2 separate regions of the Homo sapiens genome follow, and region 1 is linked to region 2. The links are contacts of gene promoters, found by promoter capture Hi-C in human tissues and cell types (Jung and others, 2019). All regions are on one chromosome and are shown on one strand. The core of a region is centred on a gene start or on the middle of the fragment in contact, and the rest is flanking DNA. Distances in the headings are between cores, read along the strand shown.

What was found. The method cuts DNA at HindIII sites, captures the fragments that hold promoters and counts their contacts. A contact is called where the count stands out against the background at its distance.
Region 1: a fragment that was not itself captured here is called in contact with the fragment with the promoter of RNF141 in region 2 in 1 of the 25 tissues and cell types used here (bladder).

The regions. Positions count from the first base shown.
Region 1 is chr11:9,677,839-9,684,256 of GRCh38, forward strand. All of the region lies in intron 1 of SWAP70 (switching B cell complex subunit SWAP70), which reads left to right. It also overlaps the pseudogene RN7SKP50. Among named protein-coding and RNA genes, the nearest start is that of SWAP70, 17 kb to the left of the region's middle. RefSeq lists an enhancer at 674-1,213. The HindIII fragment of the contact is 4,845 bases long and covers 1-4,471 here.
Region 2 is chr11:10,539,269-10,545,423 of GRCh38, forward strand. RNF141 (ring finger protein 141) reads right to left here and starts at 1,919. Exons shown (of 6, transcript NM_016422.4): 1 at 1,854-1,919. IRAG1-AS1 (IRAG1 antisense RNA 1) reads left to right here and starts at 1,968. Exons shown (of 4, transcript NR_046375.1): 1 at 1,968-2,274. RefSeq lists an enhancer at 1,995-2,104. The HindIII fragment of the contact is 8,088 bases long and covers 1-4,013 here.

The sequences.
Region 1 (6,418 bases), core at 799-3,298, 860 kb before region 2:
AGTTTAAATCTTTAGTATTTTCTCAATGATAGATTTTCAACTAAAATCTTTTTTTAGTTTTTTTATCTTTTGCCTCACAATTGGTTTGGATATCTTACGAATCATACCATGTTTTCTGTTCCCATACAGACATTTAGCCTAAAAAAATTTTACTTGCTAGTTACAAAGGTAATTCAGCCAGGCCATTGGTAAGTTGAAAATATAAAGGAAGCAAATTATGAGACAGGGTTTTTATTTGTGGAACACAATATACAAATGTAGTTAATTCTTTTGTGAACTTGGCATGTATAGTATTCCCTTCCTAATCTTTTGTGTTGTGTTTCTGCTAACCTCTATGGTAAAAGGTTCTATTGAGGAACAAAAACAATCAATTTTTAAAATGGGGTTGGGGATCAGAGTCTTGAGTGAGCCTATTAAAGTGCTGGGATTACAGGCATGAGCCACTGCACCCAGCCTAAAGTCTTTGTAAATATTTTTTATGTAGATATCACCAAAATAAAATAGTAAGGGCAGCTCTCTAAATAAAGAGAAAATTACACATTTAGATATCTTAAAATAGGATAATGAATGTTGGATTATTTCTAGTTTCTATTCCTTACTTGCTAGAAACTTTTCAGTGAGATAACTTGGACATTTTTATGTTTTTTTTTTTTTTTGGGAAATACATGTACTTTTATCGAAAATAACACGTAAACTCTGAGGTGCTTTTTTTTTTTTTTTTTTTTTGGTATTTGACCTTCCATCTTAATAGTACATTTCTGATCTTAGGACTCAGAGTTCTTAACCTCTCTGATCTCCATTTTGTATTTCCTTTGGGGTCTCATCACAGTCCCAGAGGTACATAGTAACAAAGCTAGAGACAGAAGAGGCTTTAGGCGACCTTCTCCCAGGTACTCAGCATGCCATCACTCAATAGGTATTTCTCATTCCTTCCCACCGTGAGGGTTATAGAACCTTAGTCCCATCAGTGGTGATTATTAGCACATTAGCACTCTCACTCGCTTCCTTAGTCCCTCTTAGGCATGTCCTTGTTCCCCTCCCACAACACAAGCCTAAGGTAGATCCTTGCCTCAGCTTCCTTTTTCTTCCCCAAGACTGCGTTTCATGAAACTATTTTTCCTGCTCTACTTTCTGCTTCATTTCCTTCTTCTCATCCTACCTTCGTGTTCCTTTTCTTTAAACTCAAAATCTGTGTCTACTGGAAACTGCAGTTTTCAGCAGTTGAGGGAGAGATATTTAAATGGAAATCTGTGTGTATACTTGAATTTCATATAAGGAGATCTTGCGGTTAAGGAGAGATTTCTGCAATATTAGAAACACTAATTTTTTTGATCTTAAGACTCTTCTGTTTTCTGTACCTTTTGCTTCTTTAGGAATAATTAGCTTTACAACATTTGATTTGAAGGAGGAGAATGGTGTTATGTGGGCATGGTGTATCAGCCAGAAGTGACGCTAGTTAGGATGAAAGTTGTTCTGGTCATATGGACAGTGTTGGAAGGTATTACATTCCACTCTACAGACAGCTCTGGAAGGATGGGGCATGTCAGCCTTGGCAGGCAGCACATCTCCATCAATTCTTTCAGTTCCTAGGGTGATGGATACTCAGCTAGCTGGCTGTTTTCCTGAAATTTAGCCTTCTAACTGAACCTTGTAGCTTGATGAGCAACTGACTCCAGTCTCAGTGATCGTCTTCAGTGATGATTTGAGAAACACTGTTAGGTAATAGGACAGCAGACAATTAGTAGATCAGACTACATTGGAATTCTGAGGTCCTTTACCTGGGTGACTTTGGGAAGCTTCCTTTGCTTTTTATTTTTTATATTTTTATTTATGTATTTATTTATTTTTGAGACAGAGTCTTGCTCTGTTGCCCAGGCTGGAGTGTGGTGGTGCGATCTCAGCTCACTGCAAGCTCCACCTCCCAAGTTCACACCATTCTCCTGCCTTAGCCTCCTGAGTAGCTGGGACTACAGGTGCCCGCCACCACGCCTGGCAAATTTTTTTGTATTTTCAGTAGAGACAGGGTTTCACCATGTTAGCCAGGATGGTCTTGATCTCCTGACCTTGTGATCTGCCTGCCTCAGCCTTCCAGAGTGCTGGGATTACAGGCATGAGCCACTGCACGCGGCCTGCTTTTTATATTTTAAGATTATAATAGAGCTCACAACCTTTATATGTGACAGCAGAAATTCTTTCTTATTTTCTACCAAACAATGATGTTGAAGAAAACTAATGTATAAAACATTATATGAATTTGAAGGTTTCAGGCTACTGAACACTTTTTGTTAGGCACCCTGGGAAGAAAAAAACATGCAGCCTTGTCCCTTAAGTTGAGGATTGTGTGATGTAGTCAAGAAGATAATACATGAAATGACCACAATGACGCAATATATAAACAAGTTCTAGAGTGTGTAGAAGATGACCACTCTAAGCCGTGCCATCCAGTGTTAGCCAGTAGCCACGTTTGGCTGTTGACTGCTTGAAAATTCATGAGCCTGAGTTGATATGTACTTTAAGTATAAAATATGCATTGGATTTCAAAGACTTAGTACCAAAACAAGAGTAACATATCTCGTTATTTATTTATTTATTTTGAGATGGAGTTTCGCTCTTGTCACCCAGGCTGGAATGTAATGGCATGATCTTGGCTCACTGCAACCTCCGCCTCCTGGGTTCAAGTGATTCTCCTGCCTCATCCTCCTGAATAGCTGGTATTACAGGTGCCCGCTACCACGCCTGGATAATTTTTGTGTTTTTAGTAGAGAAAGGGTTTCACCATGTTGGCCAGGCTGGTGTCGAACTCCTGACCTCAGGTGATCCACCCGCCACAGCCTCCTGAAGTGCTGGGATTGCAGGCATTTTTAAAAATACCGATTACATGTTTAAATTACAATATTTTGGATATAGTATTTAAGTTAATATTACCTATTCCCTTTTACTTTTTTTAAAATGAGGCTTTAAAAATTCTAAATTTCATATGTGGTTTGTGGTATATTTCCATGGCAAATAGAGAAAAGGATATAGACAGTTGCAGACAAAGTTTCATGAAGGAGATAGTACTTCAGCTGTTTCTTGAGAGAATGGCGAATGTGAGGGTGATCTGGCTGTGATATCTGTCACCCCATTGATCACCAGGGTTGATTTCGCTGATCTGGCTGGCTAGGTGGTTGTCCCCTTCCTCCCTCACCACTCCATGTGCGTCCCTCCCAATGCTGTGTGCTCAGTCAAAGAGAACGACCATCCTCGATAGAGGAGGACCAGTCTTCGGTCAAGGGTATATGAGTAGCTGTGCTTACCTGCTAGAACCTCCAGACAAGCTCTCAAGGTCTTGAGAGAATGGGGCAGATCTTGTCCAGTATAATTGCAGAAAGGTGACAAATATGGTGGTAGCACTGTAAATTAAGAGCAAGAGCCTCAACTTGGAGTATTTGAGCAGAAAGGAAATACTGTGAGTGGAGTAGAAGGTTTGTTTTAAAGCATAGTGGAGAATTAGGATTTAAAGAGAGATGGGGCTACATTTTAGATGTCATTGAATGTTTTTGCACAGAATATATGGCTAATATATGTTTATTGACTGACAGTCTGTCTTAGAATTAGTTCAGAATTGACCCTGTAAAGAGGGTAAGTCATTTAAAGTTTTTAGGTAGATATATGGCAGAGATACGGTTTTAAAATTATTCTGATGATGTAGGTTTAATGACTAAAGGTGAGAGGCTGGAGATTGGGGGACTTGTTAGTGGGGTGCTATGAAGTCTGGGTAAGTTGGTGAGTGTGGGTCAGTAGTGGTAGCTATGGAAATTAAAACAGATATGTACCCTCCCCTTGTAGAGCTTAAAATCTTGTGAGTGATACAGATGAGCAAACTGGCAATTCAAATACAGTGAGATACAGAAGGCAGAATGCAGAGGAAGGGAACCTATTTAGCTTGGGGTGAGGACATGAGGAGTTAGCTCAGAGAATGCTTCCTAGAGGAGGAGACATTTGTCACTAACTTGAAAAGGATGTATGAAATTCCCCTGTGAGAATACTATGATGAAAGATTCAGAAAGTAAAACCTTTAGAGGAACATGAAAAGTGTTGAGAGAGAGAGGAGTTGGGGAGTAAGGAGAGTTACCTGTACTCCATTACTTGTGTGGTAATGGGAAATCACTTCTCTTTGCTGGGCTTCAGTTTCCTCATTTGTAAAATGTAGGGTGGCAGACATGCTCTTTGAGGTTTAGCCTTCTAACTGAACCTTGTAGCTTGATGTGTTTACCATGGTTATATCCTGAGGAGTAGTTGTTCTGCAGCAACTCTTTGACAGGACCTGAGAGGGGAGAATGGGACCTTGTACTGGGAGGTGAGGGGAGGAGCCCTTGTTTCCCCAGCCTCACACTCTCTGCTTGGTTAGCCTGAAGGTGACAGAGCGGCTCACGCAGTAGAGACAGGAGTTGGCATTGGCTGGGGCTGAATTAGATCCAGAAGGTGGACAAACTGTATGAAAAAGAGATAGAAGAAGAGACCATAGTTTTGTTAAGGCAATGGTGATACCAAAGTCAGAATCAGGGTGGCAAACCTATTTTGGGGAGAAAAGTGATGAGATCTCATTTGGATCTTTTGGACGTGAGGCAGATTTAGAATAGAAATCTCTAGTATTGTTTAGTGATATAAACCAGAGCTTACTGGAGAGGTTAAGACCAGAAAGAGATCTATGAATCATTTGAATAGAGATGACTTAAGGTTGTCAGAATAAAATCACTTTCTTTTTTCTTTTTATAAATGTTTAGATTTATAAAATATAAAATTTGAAAAAATTTAAGTCTTTTGATTCATAAACACAGAATGTCTTGTCTTTATTTTTATTTTTATTTTTTTTTGAGACAGGGTCTTCGTCTGTTGCCCACGCAGGAGTGCAGTGACACAATCTGTGCGCACTGCAACCTCCGCCTCCCGGGTTCAAGTGATTCTCATGCCTCAGCCTCCCAAGTAGCTGGGATTACAGGCATGTGCCACCACGCCCAGCTAATTTTTATGTTTTTAGTAGATACAGGGTTTTTGCCATGTTGGCAGGCTGGTCTCAAACTCCTGGCCTGAAGTGATCACCTGCCTTGGCCTCCTAAAGTGCTGGGATTATAGGTGTGAGCCACTGTGCCTGGTCAAAAGCACTTTCTAAGAAGAAATTAAAGTAGAACTGAGGGTTGAAAATTGATCTTTGGGAAATGACCAGATTGGGAGAATGAGGGATGATGGATGTGACTGCATAAATTTACCTTTGAAGAACTTAGAAACTATTCTGTCTGGGCTGGGTACGCTGGCGCATGCCTGTAATTCCAGCACTTGTGAGGCTGAGGCAGGTGGATGGCTTGAGCTCAGGAGTTTGAGACCAGCCTGGACAACATGGTGAAACCTGTTTCTACAAAAAATAGAAAAATTAGCTGGGTGTGATGGCAGGTGCCTGTAGTCCCAGCTGCTGGGGGTGAGGGGTGGGGGATGGTGGCTGAGGTGGGAGAATTGCTTGAGCCCAGGAGGTCGAGCCTGTGGTGAGCCCAGATCGAGCTACTGCACTCCAGCCTGAGTAACAGAGCAAGACCCTGTCTCAAAAAAAAAGAAGAAAAAGAAAAGAAAAGAAAAGAAAATGGTATGTCAGGGACCAAAAACGTCTAAGAGGAGGGGGTGATTCAGACTGCCAACTGCCAGACCTTTGGGAGAGTGACTTGGCCAGAAGGTATCTGTCCCAGCATGGGTTCTCCAGGAAGCCAATGTTAAGACACTGTTAGGAATACAAAAGTGTTACCTGTGGGGTGGGAGAGAGGAAATGAAATTGGGAAAAGGAACTGTCAAACCATCATATGGATTTGGCAAAACCAGGAGCTCTGAAGCAAAGATTGCCCCTTATGGGACTCCCACATTGAGGAAAAGTGATCCTACCACCCCGCTCTGTCACTGGGACCCTGAAAGTAGCTGGAGGCTATCAGCTTAACACAGTCCTTGTAGCTGGGTAGCAGTTACCTACTTGAGGGGGCATCTGAGTGGTGCATCTCTGTGTCTACCTCAGAATCCATTTAGAAAAGCAATTTCAAGAGATTGATAGGGATAGAAGTCATATTTTAGGGACCATGCGGGGTCAGGTTGGTGAGAAGGTGGGGCAGCCGAGGGAAACCTCACATTTGTGATTTTTTTTCATTCTTTTATTTTTAATTTTATTTTATATATTTTTGATTTCTGTATATTTTAATGACTTCAGATTTGTGATCTTTCTTAAATTAAAAAATTTTTCTTTTTGAGACAGGGTCTTACACTGTCACCCAGGCTGGAGTGCAGTGGTGCTGTTATGGCTCACTGCAACCTTGAACTCCTAGGCTCAAGTGGTCCTCCCACCTCAGCCTGCTGAGCAGTTGGGATTGCAGGTGTGCGCCACCATGCCTTGCTAATTTTTATA
Region 2 (6,155 bases), core at 669-3,168:
AACCATAATTCATTCATAAAATAACTAAAGCAAAATGGAAAAGGCTGAAAATGCACCAAAATGACTAAATGACAAGTACTGCACTGTAGTATTTTAAAAACCTCTCTGAAACCAGTTCTCCATCAAATTTTGTATCAACCTCACCTAAAAGGATTTAATTGAAATAAACATCAATGATTTTCACTGTCAAGTCAACTTTAACATCAGTAATAAATACCAAGTACTACTGACTGGGTCCCTAAGGATATTATTTACTTTATTACTCATTGTTTACTCAAACTGTAGATCTGTAAACAGATATCAACTTTTTTTTTTCAAGACAAGTTAATATAGATACATAGTGAAATAATTAGGCCAGAGTCACTATAGAGTCCAGAATGCCTGTTCCAGAATCAAAGATCTTGATCAGAAAAAGATACATACATATATATTAGAGAGAGAAGGAGAGAGAAACTACAAAAGGATAGAGTGCCGTACTAGGAGATTAAGAATATGGATTTCTCACAGTAACAGTGTGTTTACTAAATGCATTTCATATTGGAAAAAGCATATTAGACTTGTAAGAATTCTCTCTGGACCTCCCTTGCCTTTTTGGGAAGGAAAGCGTGTTTGTATTTAGATGGGAACCAAGAAGGATCAGGCTACACACATCGAATATAAAGTTCATTTACACCAAATGACAAATATTAATTTTTGAAACATATAGTCATATTCTTGAGAAAAAGTTCTAGAAACTGAAGTCAGGCAATGTGAAAGAAAAGGATAAAAATCCATACTATTTTTGAGCTCTGAATTCAGAAAGCATCACTTCTCAGACGGGTGACTTCGACATGGAGGTGACTAATTTAGGATCGTCGGCCGGTGGCAGCTCATGCCCCCAGACAAAATTCTGAATGGGTAGAGGTCATTTTATAGCAAGAAGAATGGGCAGAAGGGAGTGAAAACGAATAAATTCGTGCTGAAGATGTAAGAATTATAAACAATTGAAAGTGTTCCAGCAGCTTTATATATATGCCAGAGGCAAGAACTGAATTAGCTGGCACCGCTAAATAGGACAGTGTCAGAATATAAAAGGTACACTACCTTTAATAAGGGGCATAGGGATCGATTTCAATAACAATCGTAAATCCACATTTTGTAACGCCGAGACAAATAACTGAAGGAATAATTTCAAAAGCTAACACAGAAGCCTTCTGCTCCTGCTGTGTAATCACTACCTTCTTATTATTAGCAAGAAAACGTTCTTTTCTTAGCCGGGTCTCAAGGTAGCAGCTAGTTTGACAAGGAAAGACCTTTGGGAAGGGTAGCAGCCTAAGCCAATTCATAAGTGTGGGGCTGGCTAAGTAGATCGACGTGGCTATTTCTGAGCTATCGTCCCAGGCAAAAGGTTTCTTATTTGGGTGTCCAGCCCGGCGGAGACCGAGCCCGCGGGCCACCCTAGCGCTCGCTCTGGCTACGCCGCCTCAGCCCCTCCTCAAGCGCACCTGGACATTTAACCAACAGCTAAGTCCGGCGGCCGAATGACTGAGCCGGCGGCAATATTCAAACAACCGTTTTGGGATAGAGAAGGAAAAACTCTCTCCGGGTCCCTCAGAACCACCCCGAGGCGGGACAAGCCACCGCCACCCCGGGCAACTGGAACCCGCCGGGCAGAAGACGGGCGTCAATAGAATGGCCTCCCCAGCCGTCCCCACGCCCCAATCCGAGGCCCGGGGAGGGCGGCGGGGCTAGGCCTGTCTCCCCGCGGAAGCCTGGCTCGGCAGCGGAGGGCCCTCTGGGGTTTCTCTTCCCAGACCCAGAGTCCTGGAGCAGCTAGCAAGGGAAACACGAAAGGACAGCGCCGCGGAGCTCACCCCAGGTTCAAGGCATCGCGCACCCTGCGGCAGCGGCTGCGCTGCCTCAGCCCACAGCTCAGACCTGCGGGTGGCCGCGACTCAGGCCGGGACCCGGTCGCACCTCTGTGACGCAAAGCCCCGCCCCCCGCGCGTTGCCGGGAGACGGCGCCCAACCTTCCTCTGCAGCGCCCCTACCGACCCGCGCTCCGCAGCTCCTGAGGGCTTTCGAGCCCAGATGGTCATCTGAGACGAGAGGTGGCGGCGAAGGAGAGTCTCGCCTGTCACGCTCCCGGAGCAGGGGCTTCATGAGGTGGCCATGGAAACAGCCTGGCAGACTCCCATCTCTCCTGGTGCCATCTCCGGAGCGGAAAGTGGAGCGCCCCGCTGGCGACCAAGGCCGCACTGAGAGCCCTGGTTTGGTCAACAGTTGGGCTCCAAGGTACCACTTCCCAGACCTCCAGCCTCCCCACTGATGATAGATACACAAAGGTCATCTTGTTTCTTTATGAGGCAATGGATTGTGTTCACCTAGCCGAGTTGTTAAGCATAAGAGAATGTATGAAAAGTAATTACAAGGTTCAAAATCCTGAGCTTTGATAAATGATAGATATGATGATGAGCACATGTTAGTGATATTACTGCTCTGCGGGACGTCTGAATCAGTAATTGCTGTCTTTTAAGCATCTGTTGTGTGCCAAATACTGCACTAGGCACTTTACGGGCATTGCTCTTGTTTAAGTCGTCTGGTCAAAGTTGCCTAGACAATAAACAGCAGAGCAAGGATTTTAACCCAGGTACAGCTGACACTGCTGCCTCTATGCTTAGCAGTTAAACTGGTTTTTATGTTTCTTGTTTGTACACCCCTCCTTCACCAGTCACTTGTAGATTCACCTTGTGAAGAGCTAATTCTTCCCTCTAATAATAATACTCTTTGACCATTTACTATATGTCAAACCGTATTTTAAGGACTTTAAAGGTATTAATTCGTTTAATCTTCACAGCAATCCTGTGAGTAGGTATTATTAATACCTTCACTAAGACACAGGCTTAGAAAAGTCGATTAACTTTTCCAAGGTCAAACAACCATTAAGGAGCAGAGCCAGATTCAAACCCAAGCAGACAGAACCCTGAACCTGTGTTTTTAATTCCTGTTTTAAACTGCCTCGGTAGTACGGTAAGACTTCATTAGCGCTAGGTCCATGCCTGTTTGTGCACCATTATTTCCCTGACAGCCAGCATGGTACTTGTTCAATATTTGAACATTTGATGAATATTTGAACACTGGAAAAGGAAAAAGCTTAAAAATGAAGTATAAATAATGATTTAATAAATTCCAAAAGATATCAAATTCAACAAGATTCCATAGTTCAGCCTAATCCGGGCCTGGGAGTTAGAAATATTACTCTGTAAAAATTGCCTTCAATTAAACATTGTATTGGAAGTTCTGGTCAATGAAATAAAAAAAGACAAATATATAAAAGGCATCCAAGTTGGAAAGGAAGTTGTAGCACTGCATTTATTTGCATAAGAAAATTGTGGAATACTACAAAAAAGCTGCTAGAACTCATAAGTGAGTTTACAAAAGTTGCAAGATACAAAATCAAATATACAAAAATCAGTTGTATTTCTATATACTAGCAATGAACAATTAGAAATGGAAAATTTTTAAATATCTCTTATCAGCAAAAAAAAAAAAAAAAAAAAAAGCAGCAAATTTGGGACAAATTTGACCAAAGATGAGAAAGACATGTATACTGAAAACTATAAAATATTATGGAATAGCAAAGACATGGAATCAACCCAGGTGCTTATCAATAGTGGATTGGATAAAGAAAGTGTGGTACATATACGCCATGGAATACTATACAACCACAAAAAGGACTAGATCATATCTTTTGCAGCAACATGAATACAGCTGGAGGCCATTGTCCTAAGCAAAATAATGCAGAAACAGGAAACCAAATACCGCATGTTCTCACTTATAAGTAGGAGCTAAACGTTGAGTACACAGACACAAAGTTGGGAACAATAAACACTGGGGATTCCAAAAGGGTAGAAAAAACTACTATTGGGTACTATGTTCACCACTTGGGTGACCTGGATCATTAGAAGCCTAAACCTCAGCATTGTTCGATATACCCATGTAACAAAACTACACGTGTACCCCCTGAATCTAAAATAAAATAAAAAACATTGTTAAGAGAAATTAAAGAAGACCTAAATAAATAGAGATACATTATGTTCATGAATCAGAAGACTGAGCATTTTTAAGATATCACTTCTGCCTAAATTGACCTACAGATTTAAGGAAATTCCAATAAAAATTCTAGCAGATTTCTTTTTGATGGAAATGACCAAACTAATTCTAAAATTTATATGGAGATGCAAAGGACCTAGGATAGTCAAGACTTTCATCAAAAAAAACAAAGTTTTGGGACTTACACTACCTGATCTCAAGACATTATAATAAGAGCTACTCAACACAGTATAGTATAGGTATGAAAATAGATAGAGTAATGGAACAGTATATAGAACCCAGAGATGTATCTATACATATGTCATCAATTGATTTTCGACAAATATGCCAAGGCAATTCAGTGGGGGAAAAGATAATCTTTTCAACAAATAAACCTGAAAAAATTGAATAGCATATGCCAAAAAACTCTTAATATCTTGCTCCTTTCCTCATACTGTCACAGGATCCTTGGAGTGTTGCTCTGCCAGCCAGAAACCTCTGTGGCCGGTGGCTCCTTTGCCCGAGTTTTGCTCAGGCCCACTGGGCTCATTCTGCCCATTTGGCCTTGCAGGCTGCACTCGGCTCATGCCACTGGCCCAGATCCCATGCCTGCCAAGGACGAGCCAGGCGCAAAGTGGTGAGGGGTGCGTGAGCAAGTGAGCGCGAGGTCTGGCCGCTGTGCACAGCTAGGCACGCCAGCTGTGGCGGGGCGGGTGGCTCCAGGTGCTGGCATGGGCGCTGGCTCCTGCAAAGCTGTGGCTGGACCAGGAGTACCACAAGCGGCTTCCACTGCTGGCACTAGGGAATGTGGTGGCACCTGGAAGCTTTGAGATGCCAGGAAATGCAGAGCCCCCAAGAGGGTGTTACAGTCCTGGCTCAGGGAGCTCTTAGGTCTGGGCTTCTCGAAGTGTCAAAGCTCTTCTCTCCTTCTCTCTTCTGTCCTTCTCATCGCTTGCAACATGGGGAGTGAGGGGGTGTTTCAGCCCTGTTTGTGTTACAGTTCTTTCAGTCCTGCCATTTGGCAGGTCCCAAGTTGTTGTCCCACATCCAGGAATAATGAGGTATGCAGACAATTGGAGGGTGAGTAGGGTGAAGAGGTGCTTTATTGAGTGACAGTATAGCTCTCAGGAGACTCTAAGTGGGTAGCTCCTTTCTGCAGGCAGGTTGTCCGGTTGTCTGCCCAGCTCTCAGCTGAGAGGAGACCCACAGTGGGTGGCTCCTTTCTGCAGGCAGGTCGTCAGGATGTCTGCTGAGCCCTCAGCAGAGAGGAGATCTGGAGTGGGTAGCTCCTACACGCAGGCAGGTTGTCCCCATGTTTCTTGAGTCTGGCTGAGCCTAGGATATTTATGGGCTCAAGAGGGAGGAAGTGCATGCTGATTGGTCCATGGGCAGTAGAAAAAGTGCCATAAGTTCTCACTCCAGTCTGAGGACCTGGCAGCCCAGCCCCCAGGCTTCAGACTCTCAGTTGCCTAAAGGTAGGGTTTCACTGAGGACCCACCCCTTTTTGCCCAGGAGCCAGTCTGCCTCATGCCACTGTCCATGGCACCAAGGCTGTTTGTGCCAGCGGGAGCCTGCAGGCCCACACTGAGCTGCCCTCAGCGCCCCCTCAGCTTCCCCTCCCATGCTCATCAGTGTCCAAAGTCCAGAGGGGGCTGAGGTGGCAGGGGGCTGGCATGTCAGTGTTGCCCCAAGCATGCACACACCTGCCAGATTGTGACAGCGTCTGGGCTTGGCCACAACTTTGCTCTGCCCCAGAAGCAGGGAGAGGCCAGACAGCAGGAGCAGGCACTTTCAAGCCTGTGGGGGCAAGGGGCTTCCTGGGCCCCTGAGAGCACAAGGATGCCCAGGTCCACAGCTGTGGTTGGGCAGCTGCAGCTGTGCCCAGGAGGGTGGGGCTCCCACCCCACCAACTCAGAAGCAGGTGGGGCTCCAGCCTGTTCCTGTTTTCATGGTTCTGTGGAGTGTGCAGCCCTGGCCAGGCCTCCCTCACTGCAGCTTGCATCTTTGCAGCAGCTGCTCCAGACGGGCTGCCACTGCCATCAATACTATATGTAAAAATTAACTAAAAATGGATCATACATCTA